4 separate regions of the Homo sapiens genome follow, and all the other regions are linked to region 2. Evidence: promoter capture Hi-C in 16 types of primary human blood cells and fetal thymus (Javierre and others, 2016). All regions are on one chromosome and are shown on one strand. The core of a region is centred on a gene start or on the middle of the fragment in contact, and the rest is flanking DNA. Distances in the headings are between cores, read along the strand shown. Region 1 holds the start of MON2 (MON2 regulator of endosome-to-Golgi trafficking). Region 2 holds the start of ZDHHC17 (zDHHC palmitoyltransferase 17). Region 3 holds the start of MIRLET7IHG (MIRLET7I host gene). Region 4 holds the start of TMBIM4 (transmembrane BAX inhibitor motif containing 4).

The links. The method cuts DNA at HindIII sites, captures the fragments that hold promoters and counts their contacts. A CHiCAGO score of 5 or more calls a contact.
Region 1: the fragment with the promoter of MON2 here is called in contact with the fragment with the promoter of ZDHHC17 in region 2 in 1 of 17 cell types (naive CD8 T cells); the score reaches 8.0 in naive CD8 T cells.
Region 3: the fragment with the promoter of MIRLET7IHG here is called in contact with the fragment with the promoter of ZDHHC17 in region 2 in 1 of 17 cell types (non-activated CD4 T cells); the score reaches 10.6 in non-activated CD4 T cells.
Region 4: the fragment with the promoter of TMBIM4 here is called in contact with the fragment with the promoter of ZDHHC17 in region 2 in 1 of 17 cell types (naive CD8 T cells); the score reaches 6.5 in naive CD8 T cells.

Annotation. Positions count from the first base shown.
Region 1 is chr12:62,465,516-62,468,215 of GRCh38, reverse strand. It overlaps MON2 (MON2 regulator of endosome-to-Golgi trafficking), which reads right to left and starts at 1,390. Exons shown (of 35, transcript NM_015026.3): 1 at 898-1,390. The coding sequence starts at 1,008. RefSeq lists enhancers at 734-1,233, 1,229-1,338 and a silencer at 1,369-1,688. The HindIII fragment of the contact is 1,301 bases long and covers 1,339-2,639 here.
Region 2 is chr12:76,762,849-76,765,548 of GRCh38, reverse strand. It overlaps ZDHHC17 (zDHHC palmitoyltransferase 17), which reads right to left and starts at 1,434. Exons shown (of 17, transcript NM_015336.4): 1 at 1,220-1,434. The coding sequence starts at 1,312. RefSeq lists enhancers at 1,087-1,236, 428-1,270, 1,246-1,540, 1,837-1,936 and a silencer at 1,287-1,696. The HindIII fragment of the contact is 3,524 bases long and covers 1-2,700 here.
Region 3 is chr12:62,601,379-62,604,078 of GRCh38, reverse strand. MIRLET7IHG (MIRLET7I host gene) reads right to left here and starts at 1,336. Exons shown (of 2, transcript NR_186001.1): 1 at 1,244-1,336. It overlaps LINC01465 (long intergenic non-protein coding RNA 1465), which reads left to right and starts at 645. Exons shown (of 1, transcript NR_121682.1): 1 at 645-2,328. It overlaps MIRLET7I (microRNA let-7i), which reads right to left and starts at 393; the gene lies at 310-393. RefSeq lists enhancers at 1-474, 475-996, 1,103-1,292, 1,373-1,482, 997-1,518 and 1 more and silencers at 323-622, 713-1,022. The HindIII fragment of the contact is 3,704 bases long and covers 1-1,705 here.
Region 4 is chr12:66,168,613-66,171,312 of GRCh38, reverse strand. TMBIM4 (transmembrane BAX inhibitor motif containing 4) reads left to right here and starts at 1,317. Exons shown (of 7, transcript NM_016056.4): 1 at 1,317-1,458. The coding sequence starts at 1,362. RefSeq lists enhancers at 1,336-1,415, 1,059-1,583, 2,066-2,165. The HindIII fragment of the contact is 2,376 bases long and covers 1-2,017 here.

The DNA.
Region 1 (2,700 bases), core at 141-2,640, about 14 Mb after region 2:
AAAAATACAAAATTAGCCGGGCCTGTTTTTGGTGGGTTTTTTTGTTTGTTTTTTTTTTTTAGAGAATTAAAATGGCATTTTAAGAGAAAAAGCAAATAGTAACCAAATGTTAAATATTTCACCTCAAGAACTATTTGGAGAATTAAATTTCCATGTATTATTTACTGGGATCTCTTTAATAATACCCTTCTGCTCTGACATCTTTCCCATACATAATATAAAACCATCCTTTAACCCTATTTTACAGCTGGAAAAAAAAACCCGAAGCTCAAAGAGGTTAAGATTTATTGCTGGAACTAAATTCAGGTGTATTCGCTCTGACTGCAAGCCCAACTTCCCACTACAGTACTGCTCATAACAAGGTTTAACATGATTATGTGGATCTTCAATATTCTTCATAAATTAGGTGGCTCTGGATAGTTTATTAACACGTCAAAGGATTGATACAGAGTTAAGCTGAATGATATATACCAGAAGGAAAATTGTTTCCAATTCAGTGATATGCCATAAACGTGAGGAGTACAGGTTTCAACAAGATGGGTGGATACTCGTTTCGGGGAGCAACAAACAAGTTTTTCAATTTTGGTTTGGCCAGTTTCAAGTAAGAAAAAGGCCAGAATAGGCTAGTGCACAGTACACCTAGCTGGATTAACTGAATAGGCTCACTTCATGAACTTCACTCCTAAACTGGGAGGACAGGAGAGGGGAGAAAATCAAAGTGCCTCAGCCCTCTCCAGTGGAAACTATAAAAAGCCCTTGTGGAACAACCCACCGACTCACAAATCTGGAAAGGTGAGGCCTGAATGAAAATTAGGACTGGAAACTGGGGTGAAGCACTGAGTCTAACAGGACCAGGCATGCTCACAGTGCCTTCTCCTGACGTCACCTGAAGCTTACCTCTTTGACAGGTGGGAATTTCTTCTTGCACTCCAGTGACAAGGCGCGCAAGTCGCTCTGCATATTCTCCAGCAGCTTCTTCACCGCCTCGGGGCTGCTGGTGCCGGACATGATCCTCCAAGGTCCCAGCCAATTTCCGAGAGGTACAAACAAGCTCTGGCACGGTCAGCTCCTTAGGGCCACAGGCAGCTCCCTCCCGGTGTCTCTGGTCCTTCAGCAGCCCGCTTCTTGGGCCCTGGGCTGCGAACCCGGAGCCTGCTCGAGCGTCCCCCAGCAGCTTCCCCGCAACACCTCTGGCTTTTCTCGGAGGCGCCCCCCGCAGTCGCACCGTCCCGCTAGGCTCCGCCGACTCTGGCCGAGAAACCCACAAGGCGGGCAGGTCCCTCCGCTGCCGCGGGGCCCAGCCACACCGGGTGTCACCAGCCAACCTGGCAAGAAGCTTCAGCGCCAGCTCCCCAGGCCCCTAAGACTCGCCGACGCCATTAGCCGAGTCGCCCACAATTCCGAGCGCTGCCGGGACACGTCAGCCGCACTTCCGGGTACCGTGGCCTCCGCCACCGCCGCGGCCAACCCCGGCGGCAGGCCGTCGGCGGGGCGGGGCTGGGGCTTGGCCATGCTCGGGGCAGGCGGGATTCCGGGTGGGCAGCGATTCCCACAGCCCCACCCCCGGAATCAAGTAGGCTAGACAGGGTTTAAGGCGTCAAGATTCGCTTCGTTTTCATTAACAAGTGCCTGAACAGAGCCCCCGAGTACTCCTTGGCATATCTCTTTGCGTATGTTTGTGTTAAATTGTATTTCGGTGTAAATAATTTGTTTCCCTGTAGATTAATCTTAACGTGTCTCCTCCCGCTTCATTTCGAATCTCTGGACTAGTGGCCCCAAATCAGTGGCTACCTCCTGTTAATATACATTTTTTTTCTTTAAACGCAACTGGTGCACTTACTGTGGGGTAGCCTCTTATTTTCCTAATCTCTAAAATGAGACTACCCTCTGCTCCACGCATTCCGCTGGCCTCCCATCTCACTCAAAGTAAAAGCCAAAATTCCTCCAATCACCTACCAGGCGCTACGAGATCTGTCCCGGCCCCTTTACTGGCAGATGCTCCCAGCTAAAAGGAGAGTTTCGCGAGTTGGGCTGCCGGTTCTTCCTCTTTTTAAATCTTATTTTGTTTCCTGTGTATCTCCAGCACCTAGAACAGTGTCTGGCATATAGCAGGTAATCAGTACATACTTGTTGAATGAATACCCTTCTATTATAAAATCAGAGTTTCGAGGCTCAAATAAGGCACAGATACATAAAAGCCTTCATCAGGTCTGAAGTGCCAAATAAATATGAGGCAAAAGCCAAACAGAAAAATCTTCATCTGTATTTCCCCAAGATCCAGGTTGGTCTACTTTTTCCCCAAGACATTTTGCAGCTGCTGGTCAGAAAGCAGAAAATGAGGGAGGAAAAACCAGAAACAGTAGAGATGAAGAAACCAACACCTTCAGACAGCTGAGCTTATGACATGATGGAAGACAGTGAGCCATGAGATTGTCAGTGGATAGCGCTGTTTGGCTGTAACAGAGCTACTTTGTAAGCTAAATAATTTTATTTTATTTTTCCTTCTGATAAGAAGCAAAGCAAGGATGGATAAAGGGGACAGATGAGGTAATAGTAGAGAGCTCCTAGGGCAGTAATTTTGATCATTTGTGCCTATTACACAACTTCTGGGAAACTTGACACCTCCTATGGTATAAGCTTTATGTATGAAAACTGGTGAATTTAGCAAAAAAGTTCAAATGGAATATATGGCAGACATTA
Region 2 (2,700 bases), core at 185-2,684:
CAATGCCAGTTCTGAAAATGTTACCACTTTGGTCAGACAAGTGTTTAGTCTTACTGTATAGTTCTGTTTATCAGAAACCCAGAGTAGCCTTTTCTACTGAGACTGGCACAGGTATATATTCCGAAGGAACTGTCCCATGTGTTTTTGATAAACCAAAGTGACGAATGAGAGGGTGGTTGAGTGTTAACATGCAACATAAAAGGATGGTTGTCATTATTCACTTTTTAACAAAAACTAGTGGCATGGTACAAACCCAAATCCAGAAAAAAACAGAATCACTCCATTGCAAAGTAACCAGGTAGAGACTTCCATGTTTGTTCATCCTACAACACGACTGTCATCTTTTAACCTCATGAAAACTACCCGAGTTCTTCAGCAAACTGTGCCGCTGCCGCATACAGACATCACTGTGGATCACTAAAAATCAGAATGCATCAAGAATTGCTTCCAAGCCTTAACTAGCACTAGCTCAGCTACAAACTCGGAGGTAAACAAGCACAGACTGACTGACTGTGGAGCGGGGCACTGTTTACTTACATGGGAAGACACTCATGTTGTGATGGGAAACGTGTTGCACTGTCCACCCCTAGCTCCTAGAAAAACGGTACTTTGACAAGCTAATGTGAGTGTAAGTCTATTCCCAAAAGTTTTTACCTCTCTTCTTAATCGCTTAAGGACAAATGCTCAAAAAAGGACGCCCGACACAAGGTGCCCGAGGTGCTACCCATGGCATTACCTGGAAGGACATCACTATGCCCATGAAACTGTCCCCTCACAGTGGACTAAAAGGAAGCAATAGATACCGTCATTCACCCTGGCGAAGGAAAAAGAAATCAAAACCAGACGCGCTTCCACCTGGCCCCAAGAGGCTTGGAGCAAGACTAGGGTCTAAGCTGCGGTTCAAAAACCACACCAGGCCCCTCCGCCTCTGCTCTCAAACGCAGCGCGGCGACACAGCAGAACCATCAACACCTCCACCTCTGTCCTCCAGGCACAGCCAGGGACTGCGTCCCAGAGCCCGCCCCGGTCGGGCCCGCCCCGCTATCTCCTCCCCCGTTATCCGCTCGCAGCCGCGCTCAGGCCTGGATTCGCCTCCCCACCCTCCCCAACTTCGGCACGTCCCACTACCCCACACACGTCGGCCGCCGCCCTCGGCGAGTCCGGGGAAGAAAGGCTGGAGGGCCGCAGGGCAAGGAATCCACTCAGCACGGTTCCTCACCTCTGGGTGGAGAAGGGGCACACAGCCCGCTTCGGTATCGTACTCATCCGGGCCGTCCGCCATCTTGGTGTTAAATCCCTCCTCCCGCTGCATGCTGGGAGAAAGCGTTTCACCCTCCCGGGGCTCGGGCGAGGCGGAGGGCGAGCGCGGGGCGAGCGCGAGCCCCGCCGGAGGCGACGCGGGCCTCCTCCTCCTTCTTCTCCTGCCCCCGTGACGCCCCCTCTGTCCCCTCCCCCCTCGGAGGGCGCGGGTTTCTCCGCGCGTGCGCGGAAGCGCGGCCCGGCCCCAGACTGGATCGCGCTCTGCTGCACTGCGCTGGGGACGGCGGAGGGCTCTGGGCGTGGGCCCCGCGGCTCGGGGGCGGGTCCCGGCTGGAGGTAGATGTGAAGCTCTGGCTGCCCGGGGGAGGCGGCCGGGCGGTTGAGACAGTCGCTTGGGAAACCTAGCAGCTGCTCAGGAGCGAGAACAGAGCTCCGGAGCCGCACGCAGCACAAGTCTGGAGCCCCAGGCAGCCGAGGAGCCCACGCCCACGCGCTCCCACTTCCGCTCCGGGACCCCCGGGACCCCTCTTCAGGAACTCGGGCAGAGTCGTCAGCCAGCTCCAGGGAGGTTTGGGCCCGTCAGGCTTGAGTCGAGACCTGCATCATTCCTGAAGACAAAAGCAGCTTCCCTTTCCTCCACACTTGAAAAGGTCACCCGCAACCTGTCCCTCCGGGGGACGCCCGGAAAAACATGGATACAACTCGGGACTTCCTACTAGAGAACCCTTTTTTTTTTTTTTTTTTTTTTTTTTTTTTTTTTAATGAGACAGAGTTTTGCTCTTGCCGCCCAGGCGGGAGTGCAATGGCGCGATCTCAGCTCACTGCAACCTCTGCCTCCCGGTTCAAGCGATTCTCCTGCCTCAGCCTCCCGAGTAGCTGGAATTACAGGTGCACGCCACCACGCCCGGCTAATTTTTGTATTTTTAGTAGAGACGGGTTTTCACCATGTTGGCCAGGCTAGTCTCGAACTCCTGACCTTAAGCGATCCGCCCGCCTCGGCCTCCCAAAGTGCTGGGATTACAGGCTTGAGTCACCACACCCTGCCGAGAACTCTTTTTAAAATGATCCCAACCTGCTCTCAATCGTCTTGAATTAGTACCACACAAAAAATTTACGAGCTCAAAGCCCACACACCGCCATCTGCAACATTTCGATATAATCCAGGAATTCAGAACTGAAGCCACTTAAACTGAATTCGCTTAAATGCAAGGCAGATAAAATGACTAAAGCCATTTTTTAAAGGATTTTAGGGCGGTATGGGGGAGGTGCTCCCTGTAAATGGGCTGATGGGACAGTTTTAGATAGCATTTGTCTTTCCTTTTAGCTGTTAAAAATTGTAAGTCTAAACAGCTGAGAATTTAGCAGAGATCATGAAAGTTGACCTATTAGAGATCCTGGTACTTACTAATCTGTCTCCTGTTAGGCCAGAAACCACCAGGA
Region 3 (2,700 bases), core at 87-2,586, about 14 Mb after region 2:
ATTTAACTGCTGAAAGAAGTGTTAGAATTTTTTAGGGTGAAAAAGTTATCTGTATCAATTATCTTACACAATTCCACTCCTTCCTTCAAGAAAAGGAATCCAATGGCTTAGCTCTTTCCCAACCTTTAAAATGCATCGCGGTCCACCCCACTCCCCTCAATTCCTTCTAGGAAAATGTGAAACTAACGGTTTCCGTGGTGGCCGCGCCGGCCGGGCGCCGAGGCTTCGCGGGCTGTCCCCAGGCAGCGCCCCGGAAAACAAAGGGGATTCCCAGCCATTGTCCTCCGCGGCGCTGAGCATCACCAGCACTAGCAAGGCAGTAGCTTGCGCAGTTATCTCCACAGCGGGCAATGTCACAACCCGACCAACAGCACAAACTACTACCTCAGCCAGGGCCATGGTGTCGGGGAGGCACGGGACCACGCGGAGGGCAGCAAAGCGGCTCCGGCGCTCCTCCGTCCTTCCTCGCCGCCGACGTCGGCCCGCCGCCCCTTCTTTTCCTTTGCCTTCCCCCCGCGCCGCGCCCGGAGACCCCGCCCAGCACCCAGCGGCTCGGCTACTCCCGGCGCGCCCCGAGAGCTACGGGGATGAGAGGCGGCGCCGGCGCCCGGGTGATACAGCCGGCGTTCTGTACGTCAGCCACCGCTCTGAAGAGAGAAAAGCGGCGGTGTCCTGCGGAGAGAGCCGCTCCCTCCACTGCCCGAGGGGAGCGCGTCGCCTCAGCCGCTCGAAAGCAGGAAATGGGCGGCAAAAGCGCAGTCAGACACCAACTGGTTCTGGACTGCCCCCGAGAGGCAGCGAGCAGCGCTCCCGCGCTTCGCCCGCTAGGAGCTGCCGCCACGTCCCGAGCTGCGCCGCTCGCGCCCCTCCCTGCTCCGAGTCCCCGGTGGGGGCTGGGCTGCGGCCGAGTCCGGTACCCGGGCCCCCACCCGCGCCGCGCTGTCGAACCCGCCGCCGGCCCGCTCTCGGCGCCGATAATCGCCGGCGGGCATCCCGCAGAGGCTGCCGCCGGCTCCGCCAAACAGCAGCCAAGGCATAGCCGGGAAGTCCCCAGGCCACCCGTTCCCCAGCACCCTTCGGGGAATTCCCGTTCAGCTCTACAGGAGGCGAAAACGGAACAAACGAAAACCCCTTAACAGTGAAACCGGGCCCGGCGATGGCCCGGGTGGCGACTGCGACGACTCGACGCGTGCGGACACAAGACCCGTCTCGCGCTCCGCTGCTCCTGTGCGTCCGGACGAACCTTAGAGATCACTTAAGGAGGCTCGCGCGCTACTCCTCACCACGTGACCGCCCCGCCAGGCCGCCCCCCGCGCCGCCATCTTACATCCGGGACAGAGGCGGCGTCCCCTTTCCCTGCCTTGGCAGGCGTCAGCGTGCTACCAGAAATCAGCCCTGAAAGAGGGGACCCCGATTCCACGTCACCAGAGTGCTGAGGCAGCGGGCGATGCCCTCCATCGGCTCAGCGGGGGGGAGTGGAGTCCCAAACTTTTTTCGGCCTTTGCCCGCAAAGAAGATGGCGGCGCATATCGCCGCCTAAGCGGACACGTTGTACCCTGGCCGTGGTTTGAAGTTTCCGGCACCTCCTTTCCCAACCAGCAAGGACACAACCATACGAGCCCCACCCACGCGGGGTGGCTGCCGTGCTACATTCCGCAGAAAACAGGCGGGAAAGCTGCGGCACAGCCCGCTTTAAACGCAAGCTTTTGGGACTTCTGGTTTTGGCTTTTTCTTTTTAAGCCAAGTTAGGGAGAAGGCTGACTGCCATGGAGCCACTTCTGCTTTTGGCCCAGACAACTTACGGGATTTTTTTTTTCCTCCCATTTAGAGATTTTTTGTAGGAAGTTAACAAATTATTTTAAAGAAGTAGTTAGGGCTTGTCAGATAAAATACAGGACGCCCAGTTAAATTGGAATTTCAGATAACCAGTGTTTTGGCATATGTGTGTTACATATATTTTTAAAATTGTTTATCTGATATTCCAATTTAACTGCACATTCTCAATTTTTAATGACTGTATCTGGCAACCCTATCAGCCTTTACCCCTGAAAATCCAGACTGCTTATGACAAAAGTAAGGAATGGAGGGAAATGAAAAGCATGTTTACCTACAACTTAGAATTGTCTTTGCCCAGACTTTGATCCTTCATGGAGGCCAGAGGGCCGTGGTCTAGAACAAAATTTGGCAGCAACTCATAAAGATATCCTTGTATAATTCCCTTTCTGGCAAAGTAAGATTTTTTTTTTCTTAAGCTATCACGATGTAATTTTGGACAACAGATCCTCTTGGCCAAGAGTTTAATTGCAAATTAAAAATTAAATAACTGGCTTTTTGTTTCTATTCTACATGGTATAGGCGATGGGACCCAAACAATTTCTTAAAGTAGAAGTTTTCAAGTTAAAAATCAGCCTGCCTGACATATTTCATAAGAACATTTTTAGGTGCATATTCAGAAACTATTTCCAATTAAGAATATTTGTGTAAACATAATACATTTGCAGTTAAATGCTTTACCTGACAAAGCATAAACTCACCTATCAATCACTAAGCATAAACTCAAAGCAAAAACTCAATCACACCATAAACTCATCTATCAATCACTTACCAGAAAGTCTGTAGAAACTTCACACCATCCTTCCTTGATAAGCAAAGATTGGACTGCCATGGGAATCAACCCTCACTGCTCATTGACTGCGCAGT
Region 4 (2,700 bases), core at 68-2,567, about 11 Mb after region 2:
TGTAAAATGTTTGTAAAATCATAAAAGATAAAGTGTTTTTTTGTTTTGTTTTGTTTTTCTTGTCATTGTGGAAGTGACGTTAGTTCTTTTGGCAAAGGCTTCTGAGAACATCAAGTTTAAGGATTTAGTTTAGAATAGACTGTTCCACAACTGTTCTGAATTCCACTTGCTAAGTGTTCGGGTGTTGTGGTTAAGGTGAGGACTGGGCAATGTGGGTAGATCAGAGTAAACTCATCAAAACAATTCCAAGGGACCCTAGGATGACACTACTCTGGGTATGTCTACACCTCTTTATATTGGAATGACAACAATATCATGAATATTCACTCTAATCCATTGTATTTGCCACCATCATCTCTCTCTTACAGTAATACAACTTTATCCCCTTTTCTCTGCCTTTGGTAATGGCCCTCTTCAATGTATTCTACTTCTGGCCTAGGATGATCTGGCCTTTGTTTATCTATCCAGCCTCATTCTTTGCCACCTGTCCCCTACACCAGCTGAGCTTCACCGTCTCCCTCTTTGCAGACGTTGGTCCCTTGAGGCCCAGCCTACATCACTGCTCTTTCTCTGGTTGGCTCCTACTTGCCTTTCAGGATTAAATATTACTTCATTCAGAAAGCCTGGTTTATAGAAAGTGCTCAATAAATGTAGGTATTATTATTATTTTAAAATAATAGAAGTAAAAATGCATCCTCGGTGTGATTATTGAAAAAGTGGATGAATGAGATGGGTATTTGTTGAGTGGATGGGTGACTGGGACATGGGTTCTATCACTTTAGCAACTCTCCAAGGTGAAAGGACTTAAAGTGTGTTCAGGCTGGGCGCGGTGGCTCACGCCTGTAATCTCAGCACTTTGGGAGGCCGAGGCGGGCGGATCACGAGGTCAGCAGATCGAGACCATCCTGGCTAACATGGTGAAACCTCGTCTCTGCTAAAAATATAAAAAAATTAGCCTGGCGTGGTGGCAGGCGCCTGTAATCTCAGCTATTCGGGAGGCTGAGGCAGGAGAACCGCTTGAACCCGGGAGGCGGAGGTTGCGGTGAGCCGAGATCGTGCCATTGCACTCCAGCCTGGGCAACAAGAGTGAAACTCCATCTCAAAAAAAAAAAAAAAAGTGTGTTGAGAAAAGTTTCACTTCAGATGACGCCGGGAATGTAAACCGTTTTCTCTTCCATTCTAACTCGGAGCCATCCCCGCTTTCTCCGCCCAGCTGGAATTTTTGAAGCGAGAAAATCGACTCGCTCGGTGTTCGCCCGCCGACGCCGCACGGCTTGCTGGGGCTGGGCTCTTCCTCGCGGAAGTGGGGAGGAGGCGGTTGCGGTTAGTGGACCGGGACCGGTAGGGGTGCTGTTGCCATCATGGCTGACCCCGACCCCCGGTACCCTCGCTCCTCGATCGAGGACGACTTCAACTATGGCAGCAGCGTGGCCTCCGCCACCGTGCACATCCGAATGGGTACGTTGTCCCCTCTCCAGTGCCTCCCAGCCGCTTGTCTGCACTGCTCGGCCTCTAGAAGCCGACTTCCGGCTTCCGAGGGAGAGCGGCCATCTCCTGGGACTCACAGGGAGTGCTCACTGAGCTCCCGGCCCTCCTTCTCCGGGTACCAGAGGACTGGCGCCCTCCTCAGGGAGTCGGGGAGGCGCTTCCTCCCCTCCTAGCGGGTGTGGGAGGGCGCCAGGCCCAGAAGGCTTGCGGCTGTCCTGTGTGCGCCCCGGCTCCCCAGCGGGCGCCGCGGTGTAGGAAGGGACAGATGGAAACCGCCGCAGCCTGAATTTGGCATCTTGAAGTGAAAAGAAACGTCGTGGAAATGAGTCGGTTGATCACTGTGACTGACGTACACACGAGTGGAATCCACGGCCTGATGTTTTTGTTCTGTGGGGTTTCGCGTTACAGGCTTATATTTACCGTCCTGTGCTAGGCTGGAAGCTCCCTGACGGCACTATTTCCTCTCCGCAGGGCCCAGAATGCAACAGGTCTTTGAGGATTATTGAGGAAGTTGCTCAACACAGAAGCTTCCTAAGTCAGTCTAAATTGTGTTTTAAGTTATTACGTAGTAGCCAATGGGCAGAAATTTTTGAATTTAAAATGCTCAGCTTCATCTACGTGGAAGCCATTGCCTGCTCTAGTTTGGTCATTTGATCGCCGAAACAGCCCCAGACTTTCAGCCTGTTTAGGCAGCTGGAACTTGTTCTGGAAAAGGAAAGATGAAGATAGTTCTGATGTGCTAAGAATCTTAGTGCCTAGAACTTGTTCTGGAAAAGGAAAGATGAAGATAGTTCTGATGCACCAAGAATCTTGGTGCCTAGCATTTATATTTTTGGAATTGAATTTTGAAATTATTTTGGCCAGTGAACTCAGCTTTTTTTTAAAAAAAATTAATTGTGGTAAAATACAGGTAACATAAAATTTACCGTCTTAACTATTTTTAAGTGTATAGTTCAGTAGTGTTAAGTTATTCACATGGTTGTGCACTGTTAAAAGAAAAACTTTAGACACATTAAATCTAACGGAGTTTGAGCACAGAATGATTTGCGAATTGGGCAGGTCCCGGAACCAGAATAAGGTTCAGAGTGATGAGTCCTGCCGCTTGGTGGGAGAAAATTTATGGAGAGAGAAAGTAAAGTGAGGTACAGAAAATAGAAGTGAGGTACAGAAAGAGTTGATTGGTTACAGCTTGGTTTTTGCCCGTTTGAACAT